Regions from separate parts of the Homo sapiens genome. Here all the other regions are linked to region 2. Evidence: promoter capture Hi-C in 16 types of primary human blood cells and fetal thymus (Javierre and others, 2016). All regions are on one chromosome and are shown on one strand. Each heading gives the region's core, a stretch centred on a gene start or on the middle of the fragment in contact. The rest is flanking DNA. Distances are from core to core; before and after follow the strand shown. Region 1 overlaps LOC105371466 (a long non-coding RNA gene). Region 2 holds the start of SLAMF1 (signaling lymphocytic activation molecule family member 1). Region 3 has its middle 23 kb from the start of ITLN1.

What was found. The method cuts DNA at HindIII sites, captures the fragments that hold promoters and counts their contacts. A CHiCAGO score of 5 or more calls a contact.
Region 1: a fragment that was not itself captured here is called in contact with the fragment with the promoter of SLAMF1 in region 2 in 3 of 17 cell types (activated CD4 T cells, fetal thymus and naive B cells); the score reaches 6.6 in activated CD4 T cells.
Region 3: a contact is called between a fragment that was not itself captured here and the fragment with the promoter of SLAMF1 in region 2, in 7 of 17 cell types (total B cells, total CD8 T cells, naive CD8 T cells and 4 more). The highest score is 8.0, in total B cells.

The regions. Positions count from the first base shown.
Region 1 is chr1:160,374,211-160,378,761 of GRCh38, reverse strand. It overlaps LOC105371466 (a long non-coding RNA gene), which reads left to right. Exons shown (of 4, transcript XR_007066686.1): 4 at 702-1,347. Among named protein-coding and RNA genes, the nearest start is that of NHLH1, 9.4 kb to the right of the region's middle. RefSeq lists an enhancer at 2,551-2,600. The HindIII fragment of the contact is 2,331 bases long and covers 1,336-3,666 here.
Region 2 is chr1:160,644,838-160,649,761 of GRCh38, reverse strand. SLAMF1 (signaling lymphocytic activation molecule family member 1) reads left to right here and starts at 2,718. Exons shown (of 7, transcript NM_003037.5): 1 at 2,718-2,892. The coding sequence starts at 2,817. LOC107985220 (a long non-coding RNA gene) reads right to left here and starts at 2,753. Exons shown (of 2, transcript XR_001738266.2): 1 at 2,427-2,753; 2 at 1-2,289. RefSeq lists enhancers at 2,587-2,636, 2,677-2,886. The HindIII fragment of the contact is 11,196 bases long and covers 1-2,746 here.
Region 3 is chr1:160,905,657-160,909,984 of GRCh38, reverse strand. No RefSeq gene overlaps it. Among named protein-coding and RNA genes, the nearest start is that of ITLN1, 23 kb to the right of the region's middle. The HindIII fragment of the contact is 675 bases long and covers 2,048-2,722 here.

The DNA.
Region 1 (4,551 bases), core at 1,252-3,751, 270 kb after region 2:
AGACCAGCCTGGCCCAACAGGGTGAAACCCCGTCTCTACTAAAGTACAAAAAATTAGTCGGGCGTGGTGGTGCCCGCCTGTGCTCCCAGCTACTTGAGAGGCTGAGGCAGGGGAATTGCTTGAACCCAGGAGACGGTGATTGCAGTGAGCCAAGATCACCCCACTGTACTTCAGCCTGGCGACAGAGCAAGACTCCATCTCAAAAAATAAATAAATAAAAAATTAGCCGGGTGTGTTGGTGCACACCTATAATCCCAGCTACTTAGGAGGCTGAGGCAGGAGAATGACTTGAACCCAGAGGCAGAGGTTACAGTGAACCGAGATTGCACCACTGCACTCCAGCCTGGGTGACAGAGCAAGACTCTCTCTTAAAAAAAAAAAAAAGAAAGAAAGAAAGAAAGAAAGAAAGAAATGTTCTGAAAGTGATATTTCTAAAGTGTACATCTGATGATAGTGTTTATCTACCCCACTAGAGAATGTTCATTGGTTTCCCATCACTGTGTGGCCAAGCACACACTCCCTATTATGCTTCTCCTGACCTGGCCCCTGCTTACCTCTCCAGACCATTCCGTCACTTTCCTGTCCCACCAGCCCCTTGCACTTAATGTCCCAACAATACCACACTGCTAATAGTGTGCTCTTGCTCACCAGAGCTTCTCAGGGTTCCATGCCTTCATACCTACAGTGCCTTTCCTTTGTAGGTGGGGTTCCCTGGGAAGTGGATTCCTGAACTCTGAGATCGTATACAGGAGAGTGCCAGCAGGAGAGTTCTTGAGAACACCTGTGAGGTGTGAGGGAAGCTGCAATAAGCCGAGAGAGAAACTGAAAAGCAATGCAATGGCAACAGAGGCTTCTGTCCATCCCATGGGGGCTCTCAAGCTGGGATAACTTTGTAACCCCACATCAACCAGTCATTGCCCTAGGGAAAGAGCAACACCTCAGGCAAGGCGGCTTTCTTCCTCCAAAGGCAATTCCTGGAGAGGGACTCAGCTGTGAGTCAACACTTCCACAGCTGGAGAAGTGAGTGGAGCACACCACAGAATTCACTGTACGTATCTCATGGTCTTCAAAACCCAGCTCAGAGTTTACCGGCTGCCTTCCTCACCAACACCCTCTCTCAGGTAATCACTCGCTTCCTTGCAGATGCCTCTCACTGTTGGGAAACTGATATGTTTACATGCCTGTCTCCCATACTCCCTCCCAAGTAGGTGGTGGGGAGGGCCTGATCCTGTATTTCAGAATCCAGAACAGTGCCCGGTATACATTGGCTATTCCATAAAGGCATGCTGCACTGAATAAATTGAAATCAACCAATGAAAGAGGTAGCTACAAGCTTATAAAAGAAGGAGGCTGGAGTTTAATGCTAGAAAGGATAAAAGGGACATAGACAGTAGAGATTCTCACTTGGGAACCACACTGGAGACCCTGCTTGGGAGGCCCAAGAGTCCCAGGTTAGAGCGAATCAAGGCTCTGAGCTTGGGATGTCCAAAGAGGGGCAGGAGCCAGAACAAAACCTGTAACCTATAAATAGCCATAGGTTATAGCTCATGGAGCTGGGAGACAAAGGTAAAACTTCAAGGGGAGAACGGGCTTCTAGGAAAGAGGAAATTCGACAGCTCCCTCTCCTTGCTCCATACCTGCCAGCTGTCACTCAGACTCCTATATTAAAAAGAGCACACACACAAAAAAGTACACAGATATACACGTGTTCAAAAACCACAGAATCAGGTAAGCACGCCCAGATACAGAACACACACATAACACAGACACACAATACATGAAACAGACACAGACCAGAAAAAAATCAATCTGAAAATTATAGGCCATAATATATGTAAATGAACCACCTATGAATTCTAAACTCTGTTTACCCCTAGTCAGCCTTCAAGCCTCCTTCACCTTCCAGAAATCTCTGACAAGTAGAGAATTCCAGATTGCAGAATTGCAATTCCTTCGTCCTTTGTCCCCAGTCAGGTCATTTCTTCTCTTTTTCAGGCTCTCAGCAGCTCCTAGCTAGGGATAGGGAAGAGGGAAAATGTTTCTGCTAGTAGCCAGCAGGGGACAGTGTTCAACAAGCAATAATCAAATCAGCCTTCAACTTGCTGAAGGGAGGGAATGGAGGACGAGGGAACCAGAAAAGGGTCCTCAGACCAACACATTGCTCTGATCACACCCTCGATCCATGTCTCCCTCTTTTTTTTCTGCTTCTTCAGCCCCCTTCTTCTCCTCAGCTGCAGTTTCTCCATCCTTAGTTTAGTAGATCTCATGGATTGTCTATTTGCTCAGAGAAGACTAAGCTCAGGAATTTCCCCCTCAGGGAGAGACATTCCCCTTAGCCTCTTGTCCCTTTCCATTCTGTCTTGGTTCCCAAGGTGGTCAGGACTTCGGAGTTTTCATCTGGACTCCTGACCAATGCTCAGGAACCCACATGAGGGGCTCAGTTCCAGGGCCACCTCTCAGGGGATGCTTGCATCCTGGTGCACAGCTGGTCTAGTAGAAGTGGGGTTGGGTGTCAGGCCCCTGCACTGCCCTTAGCCTGGTGCTTTGTAAAGTGCACAAACTGTATGACAGTACAGTTGACCCTGCTACTTACTGCCCCTGAGATAGCATCTGATGAGCGTTTCCGGTGTTGAACACTTTCACGATGATCTCATTTAATCCTCATCACACCCCGGTGGGTCTTGTTGTCTTTCCTGCTTTCCATATGAAAAAGCTGTTGCTCAGGGAGGGCATGCGGTTTGCTCACTGTGGCACAAAGGGGAAAGGTGGAGACAGAGCAGGGACACGGGACCTCTGGCTGCCGGGTGTGGGCTTTCTCCCCTCTAGCACAGTGTTGCTGCACTGCCACCACTGCCTCCCTTCTTCCACTCCCTCTCAGCCTTTCAGGCTCATCTCTGCTTGCTCCCTTCTCCTCCCTGCGCTGACATCCCAGCACTGTGAGCCTCTTTCTTCTGCCCATAATCCTCATCCAATGAGAGGTCAAAAGCTCAGGAAAGAACACAAGAAGAAAGCAGAAAGATAAAGGAACTGGGTGGTAGAAAGGGCTTTCCAGAAAGAGGAAGAAGCAAAGGCAAAGAAGACAGGGCCTGCACTGGGGGTGGAGAGGGAAGGGAGGTGGGTGGAATGAGGAAGCGGAGCACCCTCCACACTGTGCCCAGACTTGGGAAAGGGCACAGACAGGGCCTCCATTGTGTGGGCACAAAGAGGCCATATGCCTGGCAGCCTATGACAGTGTGTGTGTGTGCGCGTGTGTGTGTGTGTGTGTGTGAGAGAGAGAGAGAGAGAGAGAGAGAGAGAGATTTTAGGCAACCCCCACCCAGCCCCTGGGGCCTTGACTTCTGCTCTGTCACTGGTGATGGGTTTGCTGAGTTACAGGACAGGGCGTTGATGAAGACAGGACTGGAGGGTCAGGCACCTGTGGTCACTAGGACTGGAAGAGGGCATGGACAGCTGGGGGAGCTATGGCCATGCATGGGATACTTGGCAAGGGGAGTAAGGAAGCAGGGGTGAAGTGCAAGAGTCCCATTCTGGGGTCCTCCTAACTGCCCCTCCCCCACCCCACCACCCACGAGTTGGGTTTAGAGGGATGTGGAATGAGGGATGCAGAGCAGATCCTCTTCTAACAATCCCTTTTCCCCATCCTCCCTATCTGCTAGCCCCAAAGCTTTCACTTTCCCCTCAGCCCAGGGACTTCCATCTCCCTGCCCTCTCCCTCCTCCCCCAGTGCCTGGTCCCCTGCTCCCTCCTCTTCCCACTCTCCACCTCCTTCTCCTGTCCTTCCCAGAGTGAGAAGAGCAACAAGAGCGACAGCGGCAGCGAGGCCAATTGATTATCTGAAGAAATTCGGAGCTAGCAGTAGAACAGCTGCAGCTTCCCCCTCTCACCACCTCCAGGCCCTCAGGGATCCCTGAGGGGAGGGGCCCCCTAAGCCCTTCTGCTCTCCAGCCCAGGCAAAGAGACAAGAGAGGGAGGCAGGGAGCCCAGAGGACTGTGGCTGCTGAGCACAGAGAAGCACAAAGCTCTCAGGGCCAGGAATGGAAGACTTGGCTTCTAATCCCAGGCCATCATCATGGGTGAGTCACGTCACCTGTCTGGACAGTAGTTTACCTGCCTTTGAAATAAAGTTGTTGGATTCAGTGATTTCTGTGTTCCCGTCCAACTCTGGCCCTTTGGAGTCCTGAAGTTCTCCCTGATCTCAGTTCAGCCTTCCCTTTTGCCAGGCTCTGGGCAGAGCACATGTCATTTAACTCACATGGGAAGGGGAAGATGTCAAGTCCTCCTGTATGGAAGCTCCTCCCTAGGTCTAACTCAAGCCCTTCATGCTGCTTATGTCATTCTTTGTTCATCAAAGATGAAAACCCATAGCTGGGCATGGTGATTCATGCCTGTAATCCCAGTATTTTAGGAGGCCAAGGCAGCAGGATCACTTCAGGCCAGGAGTTAGAGACCAGTCTGACCAACATGGCGAAAACCCATCTCTACTAAAAACACAAAAATTAGCCGGGCATGACAGCGGGCGCCTGTAGTCCCAGCTACTCAGGAGGCTGAACC
Region 2 (4,924 bases), core at 1,469-3,968:
AGATACTACCCAAGACTGGGTAATTTATAAAGGAAAAAGGTTTAATCGACTTGCAGTTCCACATGGCTAAGGAGGCCCCAGGAAACTTACAATCATGGTGGAAGGCAAAGGAGAAGCAAGGACCTTCTTCACATCACAGTAGGAGAGAGAAGAGCAGCCAAGAGCAGAAAATACTGCCTTATAAAACCATCCAATCTTGTGAGAACTCACTCACTGTCTTAAGACCGGCATGGAGGGGAAACTGCCCCCATGATCCAATCACCTCCCACCTTGTCCCTTTCTCAACACTTGGGGATTATGGGGATTACAATTCGAGATAAAATTTGGGTGGGGACACAGCGGCAAACCACACCAACAGGCATGATCATGATAGTCCGTTTTCACACTGCTATAAAGATACTACAGCCTCAAACTCTTGGGCTCAAGGGGTCCTCATGCTTCAGCCTCTCAAGTACCTGGGACTACAGGCATGTACCACCATGCCCAGCTTAACTGTAAGTTTATATAATTTAATTTAATTTTATATGTTTAATAATGGCCATGTTCATCAAGCACCTCACAAGATTCCTGAAAATCTATTTTTTATTTTTATTAAAAAAAATTGTTTGTAGACATGAGGTCTCACTCTATCGCCCAGACTATTTTCAAACTCTTGGCCTCAAAAATTCTCCCACCTAGGCCTCCACAAATGGTGGGGTTACAGGCGTGCCACTGTGCCCATCCAGATTCCTGAAAATTTAACAATTTTATGAGTTGGTACATGCTGACTCGAGCACACACCACTGGGAATAGTTGTGAGGAGGACAGTTGAGTGCTGGGGAAAGGAAGGAAGAAAACAGTGAGGATAAAGTTCACATATCTCACCAGCTTTTATTACCTGATCCCCATGGGGAGGCCCATCAGAGAGTGCCTATGACCTGTTACAATGGACTCTAAAAACACTTCCCTACTCTTTCAAGTCTCCCTGTGAGCATTGGTTACACTTCCAGTATCCCATTCTTATAGTTTAACTCATGAAAAAGGGCGGGATCCTCCTTCTGCCAATACTAGTTCCTTCTCCTCAATGAAAAGTTAGACACAAACTCCAAAATAAAGGCAACTCCCAGAATACAACACAGCCCCAATTAAATTAAAATGGCTTTTATCCAAAAGACAGGTAATAACAAATGCTGACAAGGATGTGGAGAAAAAGTACCCTTGTACACTGTTGTTGGGAATATAAGTTAGTACAACCACTGTGGAGAATGGTTTGAAGGTTCCTCAAAAAACTAAAAATAGAGCTACCATATGATCCACAATCTCACTGGTAGGTATACACCTAAAAGAAAAGAAATCAGTATATTGAAGAGATATCTGTACTCCCATGTTTATTACAGCACTATTCACAATAGCCAAGGTTGGAAGCGACCTAAGCGTCTATCACCGATGAGTGGATAAAGAAAATGTGGTACATATACACAATGAAGTACTATTCAGCTAAAAAAGAATTAGATCCTGTCATTCACAATGACATGGATGGAATTGAAGATCATTATGTTACGTGAAATAAGCCAGGCACAGACAGACAAACTTTGCACGTTCTCACTTGCTTGTGAGAGGTAAAAATTAAAACAATTGAACTTGTGGGCATAGAGAGTAGAAGGATGGTTACCAGAGGCTGAAGGGTAGTGGGGGTTGGGGAAGAAGTGGGGATGGTTAATGGGTACAAAAAAATAGAAAGAATGAATAAGAACTAGTATTTGATAATACAACAGTGTGACTATAGTCAATAATAATTTAATTGCACATTTAAAAATAAAAATATAATTGCACTGTTTGTAACACAAAGGATAAATATTTGAGGTGATGGATATCCCATTTACCCTGTGTGATTATTACATATTGCATGCCTCTATCAACATATCTCATATACCCCATACAAATATATGCATACCCCATACATATATATATACATACACACACACACACACACACACACACACACACACACACACACACATATATGTATATCTACTATGTACCCACAGACGTTAAAAATTAGAGGAGAAAACACACACACAACAAGGAGACTGAGCTGGAAGGATGGAGCTCTGGGATAGATTTGTCCTACATCCCTGCCTGGGAGGGAATCCACACACATGCAAGAAGACAAACTAGGAGCATGGGCTACTAAATTATACCACATTGCACTCATCGGGGTCACAGGGTTTCTTCCAAGTGACCCGCACATGCCCTTCCCATCTCTGTGTGACAGTGGCACCTGCACCAGACTGCATGTTGAGGTGTCATCTGAAATTATGAAATAAAACAGAAGTAAGAGGTCTATTAGCTCATCAAAATGCAGTTATCTAAGTTCAGCTGTGAACTGCCAAATTTGAGGAGTGATCCAATGAAACATCTTTTCTTTGCAATCCAAGAAGACTTACCGGAGAGAACTGCTCAGAGAATCTGCAACATCCGGTTCCTGGAGACAGCTAAGGAAAGAAGCTGGGGCGCATGTTTCTGCCCAAAGCCGGGTTTTGGCCGAGGTGACTACACACCCCCTTTCCTGGCTCCCATAGGCTAAGTGCCTGGCTTCTTGAGAAGCCTGCTTCTTGAGAACAAAAAAGTGATTTAAAGCCTCATGGGAGATGAGCAATCCTCAAGACACAAGCAGAAAAAGTCCCAGTGATACAGGAAGCGGGTTCAGGAACCTGCTGGTTCCTGATACATAAATCAGACAGCCTCTGCTGCATGACACGAAGCTTGCTTCTGCCTGGCATCTGTGAGCAGCTGCCAGGCTCCGGCCAGGATCCCTTCCTTCTCCTCATTGGCTGATGGATCCCAAGGGGCTCCTCTCCTTGACCTTCGTGCTGTTTCTCTCCCTGGCTTTTGGGGCAAGCTACGGAACAGGTGAGTGTTCATCTGCCTGATGGTTTGAGTCCCATGTTAGCTGCCAGGAATCAGCGTATCTTCGTGGATGGAGAGAAGGTGCAGGGCTGGGTATTGTGTTTGGTCACTCTTCCTTAGGGACTGGCTGTCAGTTTCAACTGCCTCTTTCAAAGAGGAAGGAACATTATAAGTTCCTGGGCCCTTGGGTTTCCAAGACTCAGCCCCACCAACCCCAGTTTCCAAGGAAATGAGGGGCTCTAAGCCAAAGGCTCCAGTCACTTTTCTGACCAGTCTTAGGGTGACAGGCCCTGGTAGAAGTCTTGCTTGAGTGGTTGGTTTTACATGGGCATCTTCTGGCAAAGACCCAGCCTAGAGAGACTGAGCTGGATGGACTGAGCTCTGGGAGAAGATTTGCCCTACATCCCTGCCCTGGGAGGGAATCTGTGCACATGCAGGCTGACAAACCAGGAGCATGGGTCAACAGAAAGCATTGGCTAGAGTGGGAAGAGAGAGTAGAAGTGAAAACTCCAGGCTTTTGGCTGAGAACCAGCAGTGGCCACAGTGCGGTCATACTGGTGTGTATTTTCTTGGAAGAGAAGGTCCAAGAAAGCAAGAGGGAAGAAGTTGGGATTTCTGAAGGCTAGGGCTGGTTACAGTATGTGGGAAATGCAAATTGGGAACCCTCAGAGAGTAGCTCCAGCAGGAAGGCCAGACAAGAGCTACCTTTGGATCTGGACTCTGTTCCTGTCTTTCTGTCTATCTTCTTCCCAAGGCAGGCTATTGCTTTCTGTTTAGAAGTATCAGGGCTATGAGAAAAGGTATTTGAGAAAGAAAAAGCCAAGCAAGAAGTGGACTTTGGACTGCCTGTGTGAGTGGGGTGAGAATCTCCTTCTGCTTATTTGTTTAGACTGTGGGAGGTAGCCTGGAGTAGAAGAGGTGGCATTACGGACACGGGGGGAAATCCTGAGGCCCAGGGTGTTTTAAGCTTGGGGTTTTCAAGACCGCAAATCCAATATGGACTTTTCCAGGAAAAGCACCGTGATATGCCAGGGATGTGGGGGTGCTGCACAATGGATGTGTCTTTTACCAGACAGCCAGACGAACAGGGCTTGCTCAGCCCACTTTCTTTTGGAATCTGCAGATCCATGGCTCGTACTTCCCAAGGTCTAGGGGAGGAAGAACTGAGCTCGGGGCTCAGAAAACCAAATCGAGCCACTTTAAGTGGTCACAGGGAAAGCCAAGCCTCCGTTGTTGCAACCAATTTGTGACTGCACCATTTCTGGAGCACCTCTTGGTGACTGTAAGGTGTGATGGAGTGATGGTGCTGAACTGTGAACTGGACTTTTCCATCTCTGTGCTTGCTAGCCTCTTGGCCAGCCTGGCCCATAGCATCTTAGGCACTGCTGACCAATAGCTCGTCTTATTGAGGCTTTGGAAGTCGCCGGTCAGGGAGAAGCAACCCAGCCCCACAAGGCAAGTCTATCCAATCGGAGGCTGCTCACTTCATTGCATGTTTTCTTCTTTGAATCTTCACAAAAGTTTTTCAGTGTTTTTATTTTTAAATACACACCCTTTTGTGAAGCCCCAATAAAACCCAGACAGAAATGCTTTGCAAATGGGGCAGGTTAGTCATGACAGATTTGCCCAAGCAAGAAGCTTGATTCTTGTAAAACTGGCATCCACTCCCATTCTCATTTCTACTCAGCTCAACTTCTAATTCCCAGTCAGAATTGTAAAAATCAAAAAGTCCACATGTCCCTTCCCCAAGTAAAGTGAATTTTTCATTTCCCCCGATGAGATTTGTTTTAATAGACTTTATTTTTTAGAGCAGTTTTAGGTTCACAGCAAAGTTGGGCAGAAAGAACAGAGATTTCCCATATGCCCTCTGCCCCATACATACATAGCCTCCCCTATTATCAATATCCCCCACCAGGATGGTACATTTGTTATAATTGATGACCTTATGTCAATGAGTTTTTTTTATTCCTCCATGCAGTTCCTCTGCACCCCCTTCACACACTTTGGGGGAAGGTGAGGGACAAGTGCGTGGGTT
Region 3 (4,328 bases), core at 1,136-3,635, 260 kb before region 2:
TAGCACTCACTACGAGGGTCTGTGGCTTCACTCCTGAAGTCAGCGAGACCAAGAACCCACCAGAAGGAAACAGTTCCGGACACAGTATAATAATAGCTGAGACAAAAAAGGCAATTAAAGTGGCCAAAAATCTTTTTTTTGAGTATGAGATAGTGCTTTTCTAAATAACCGTAGGGTTAAATTTACAGGGAGCCACAATTCTACATGCCATTTTAGGATCATGCCATAGGTTATATTTAACTATGTAACATTTTGATGAGACAAGCATGTAGCGTACCAACTACTGGAAGAGAAAGTAATACTATATAAGGATTGATTCTGTTCTATGTTAGGAATACCCTGCCCAGACAAAATTATCTAGGGGTGTGTAGTACAAATCAGGACTGTATCAGTAACATTATTGTGCAAGGAGAGGGTATAGTTGCCACTGCTGTAAATGTAATCACCATACAAAACAACGCATTCAAAAAAGGGAAGACCTAGTCTCCAAATTTGGGTATGAGCAGGGCTTAAAGCTTGCTTCCCTTTTAGTTGTAATATTGGTCCTGAAAGCCCATACTCTGACCAGGTGATGGAACTATTGGAGGACTCCCAAATCCAATAGTCTGATTTGCAGACATAAGATTAGCATGGGGACCCCAATCAAGTAAGGTGCCATTATTAAGCAGAGGCCCTTGTCGTGGCGCAGGTTGTCTGCATGGGGTTCACACTGGACAGCCTCAAACTTACATTGCCAGTCCCTTCTCAGACAGCATATAAGAAGACTAGGCACTTGTGTAGCTTCATTAGAGACCTTAGTGAGATTAATGGTAACAGCAGAAATAAAGGTCAAGTTTGCGGGCTTGGCATCCCTTTTGAGGTGACAGTAAAGATACTCCAGAGGAATAAGAGTAATGTGCTTATCATGGGCTATTGTAGAAAAACAAAGAAGGGGGTTGCTAGACAATAAAGTCAAGGAGTCATTGAGTTTAATCCATCCCAAATTTTCAGTTAAGGGGTAAGACAGGGGCATCCATCGACCTCCCATCCAAGAAGTATCATTAGATGACAAAGGCGGGTCAGCATCCCACCACATAATAACATTTCCAACAGTGGGATTCAGAATATGATTCCAGTAAACATGTTCTTGAGCTGATCCCACTTGGCAAAGGATGAGAATCACCAGCCACCCCAGCATCCATGTCTGTCTTACTTTCTCAAAAGCTCCCCCAATTACTGCCAGATACATAAGAAACCAATTCTCTGCAATTGCAGGGGCTCCCATGGCAACAAGCTGGATAGTTGCCTGTTGATCCAATTTCTTTAGCTGCCCTCAGGTAATGTCAGATGCCTTCCGAGTCATCGCTATCATTGCTGGTCGATTCTCCAACGACAGGTCTTTCATCATCAGGAGGGGTTCAGTTGTCTCCTACCTGTTCTCGAGGAGAAAGCCCAATATTCCCCCTTTTTTGTTTGTTAAGATATACTTTAAGAGTTTGATGAGCTCGCTCAACATTGGCCTGACTGGTTGAGTTATAAGGAATGCCAGTCTTGTGTTGTATGTGCCACAGTTGTAAATGCATATGTAAATCGAGCACTAAGACAGCAATGTCTATTATCAGTTTTTGTAATTTGTGGAAGGCCTAAAGTCATAATAGATTTAAAAAGATGAGCAATTGCATCTTTAGTTTTTTCTGTAGTCTGAGGAGTAGCATATTTCAGGCCTGTATAAGTGTCTACAGTAACGTGGAGAAATTTGAAGCATCTAAAGGGTGGATGCTGAGTAATATCAGTTTGCCAGATAGCATTAGGCACCAGACCTCGTGGGTTGGCACCAAGTCCTAACGAAAAAGGGGAGAGCGAATGCCATTGGCAGTCAGGACAGGTTTTAATAATCATGCGAGCTTGAGTGAGCGCCAAATAAAACTGTTGTTTAAGACTGTGGTTGTTCTGATAAAAAAAGGAATGATCAGCTTGAGCTTGCAAAAATGTAGGAGATTCTGTAAACCACGGAGCTTAGTGTTAATATGTGACTTTAGACAACAATGTTTTTATATTTTAGGAAGCTTGAAGCTAACAATATATTAAGACAATGATCTCTTTATAATTTACAATAAATAAAGTGAAAGTTTGTATTTTATATTGTTTAAAACATAAGAAGATTTTATTTGAAAAGACTTTTAAAAAAATATGAAGGCTTTCTCTTAGGGTAAGAATTATGTAATTATGTTGCCCAAGTAATACAGTGATGGAAACAAGACAATATTTTATCTTTCTTTTCTTCAGTTGAATGCTAATAGACAATAGTTTTTTGCTTAGCTAGGAGCTTAAATACTGTTTGGGAGAAGTGGGATATTTATTAGTGGGTTGCAGGGAATAAATGAAATCACCTTAGTAGAGGATGCTGCTATACTTTTATCAATGTCCACTGACATTGGTTTGAAAGTGGAAATCTTTTGTGTAAAGGCCTGGGGATTTTTTGCCTATATCTTAAGTATATCTCTGGGCTGGCAGCCCCTTAATATACTCAGAAAAGTAAAATATAGGTTACAAGATACTTTAAAAATTTATTTTGACTAGTGAGTTTGTTTCTAGTTGATTCACCTAATTAGAGATGTTACAAATCATTTTATATGATTGAACACATGTGAGTGTTGTTTTCCTGGAGACTGGGTTTCATTACAAGCATTCTGATTTGGGCCCCATTGAAGTTTTTCTTTCTCTAGCCCTTCTAAACTAAGCTTTTTAGAACTCACTCACAAGTTGTATGAATTTTGACAGACTTTTATTTTATCTTCTGATTTATTCCGTGTGCAGTGGATTTGAATAGCAGAGTTTTTTTATAGCTCTGCTGATGTGATGTTGGTCACTACGTGCAGCTTGCAATCAGTTGATAAATTCAACGTATGTTTCTGTGGCACTCTGTTTAACTGTTATAAAGGAATGTTTCTGTGGCACTCTGTTTAACTGTTATAAAGGAACCCTGGGATTGTCCCGTGGGTATCCTCTTCTATGCCTGTATTGCTAGCTGCAAGCATTGTGGAAATAGATGGCTGTTTATTTGAGCTTGAGCCTGAGCTCAAGCAAAAGGACCTGGTCCCAATAGCATATCAAGCTGTGTTGGGATATTATTATCCAAATTTTGCAAGGGCTGCTGCATGGATAGATCACTGTACTCACTCCACCGCACAGTATATTCTGCAGCTGAAACCAAAACTTTTACTAAAGTTTTCCAATCATGCGGAGTCATCTTATAGCCATTTCCCAGAGCCTCAATCATCCCCTGGGTAAAGGGTGAATGTACACCATTTTCACAGATACTTTTCTTTATCTCTTTAAAAACAGTAAAAGGCAAACTCTCATGCCGTCTCCTATCATTTTGAACAATGACAGGGAATGCGCCAAAAAGTGCCTAAGAGTCTCCCTTTTTAAGTCCCTCCTGGAGGCACCCCTCTACTAGGGAAGTTTGATGAGGAGTCGTCACTGAGAACGCGTTCACCTGATCATATATGTCAGGCCTCTGAGCCCAAGCTAAGCCAACATATCCCCTGTGACCTGCACGTATACATCCAGATGGCCTGAAGCAACTGAAGATCCACAAAAGAAGTGAAAATAGGCTAAACTGATGGCATTCCACCATTGTGATTTGTTCCTGCCCCACCCTAACTGATATGATATATTCTCCCCTGCCCTTAGGAAGGTACTTTGTAATATTCTCCCCGCCCTTGGGAATGTACTTTGTATGCCTATCCCAAACCTATAAGAACTAATGATAATCCCACCACCTTTTGCTGACTCTCTTTTCAGACTCAGCCCGCCTGCACCCAGGTGATTAAAAAGCTTTATTGCTCACATAAGCCTGTTTGGTGGTCTCTTCACACGGACGTGCGTGACAATATAGATGTTCACTGACAGGGGGTCTTATCCAAGAACCGTCCATCCCTTGGGTGGCCTCCAATCTCCTCCAGGGGGATGGGAGGCACTGTAGCCTGAACAGGGCCAATAGATGTGGATTTTTTTAGGGGTGGAGGAAAGGAGGGCAATGGCTTTTCTATTGGGGGAGGAAAAAGCTCCGGTCTGTCCTCATCATCACTAGAAAGTGTCCTCCTTATGCCCTACGGAAGGGAATGAAGTAGGGAGAGGAGCCCCTCCCTGTTGTTCTGGTTCCTGTTTTTCTTTAAATCTCCTGAATTCCCTTCAGGTGGAGCTAATGGGCAGTCTGACTCACCGCAATCTGGCATATAAAGAGGGTACAATGCAGAGCGTACCAGGGCCCAGGTGGTCAAAATGATAACCTTAGTAAAATGGCCCTGCCTAAATCCTGTTTTCAGGCAGTGATCCACCTCCTC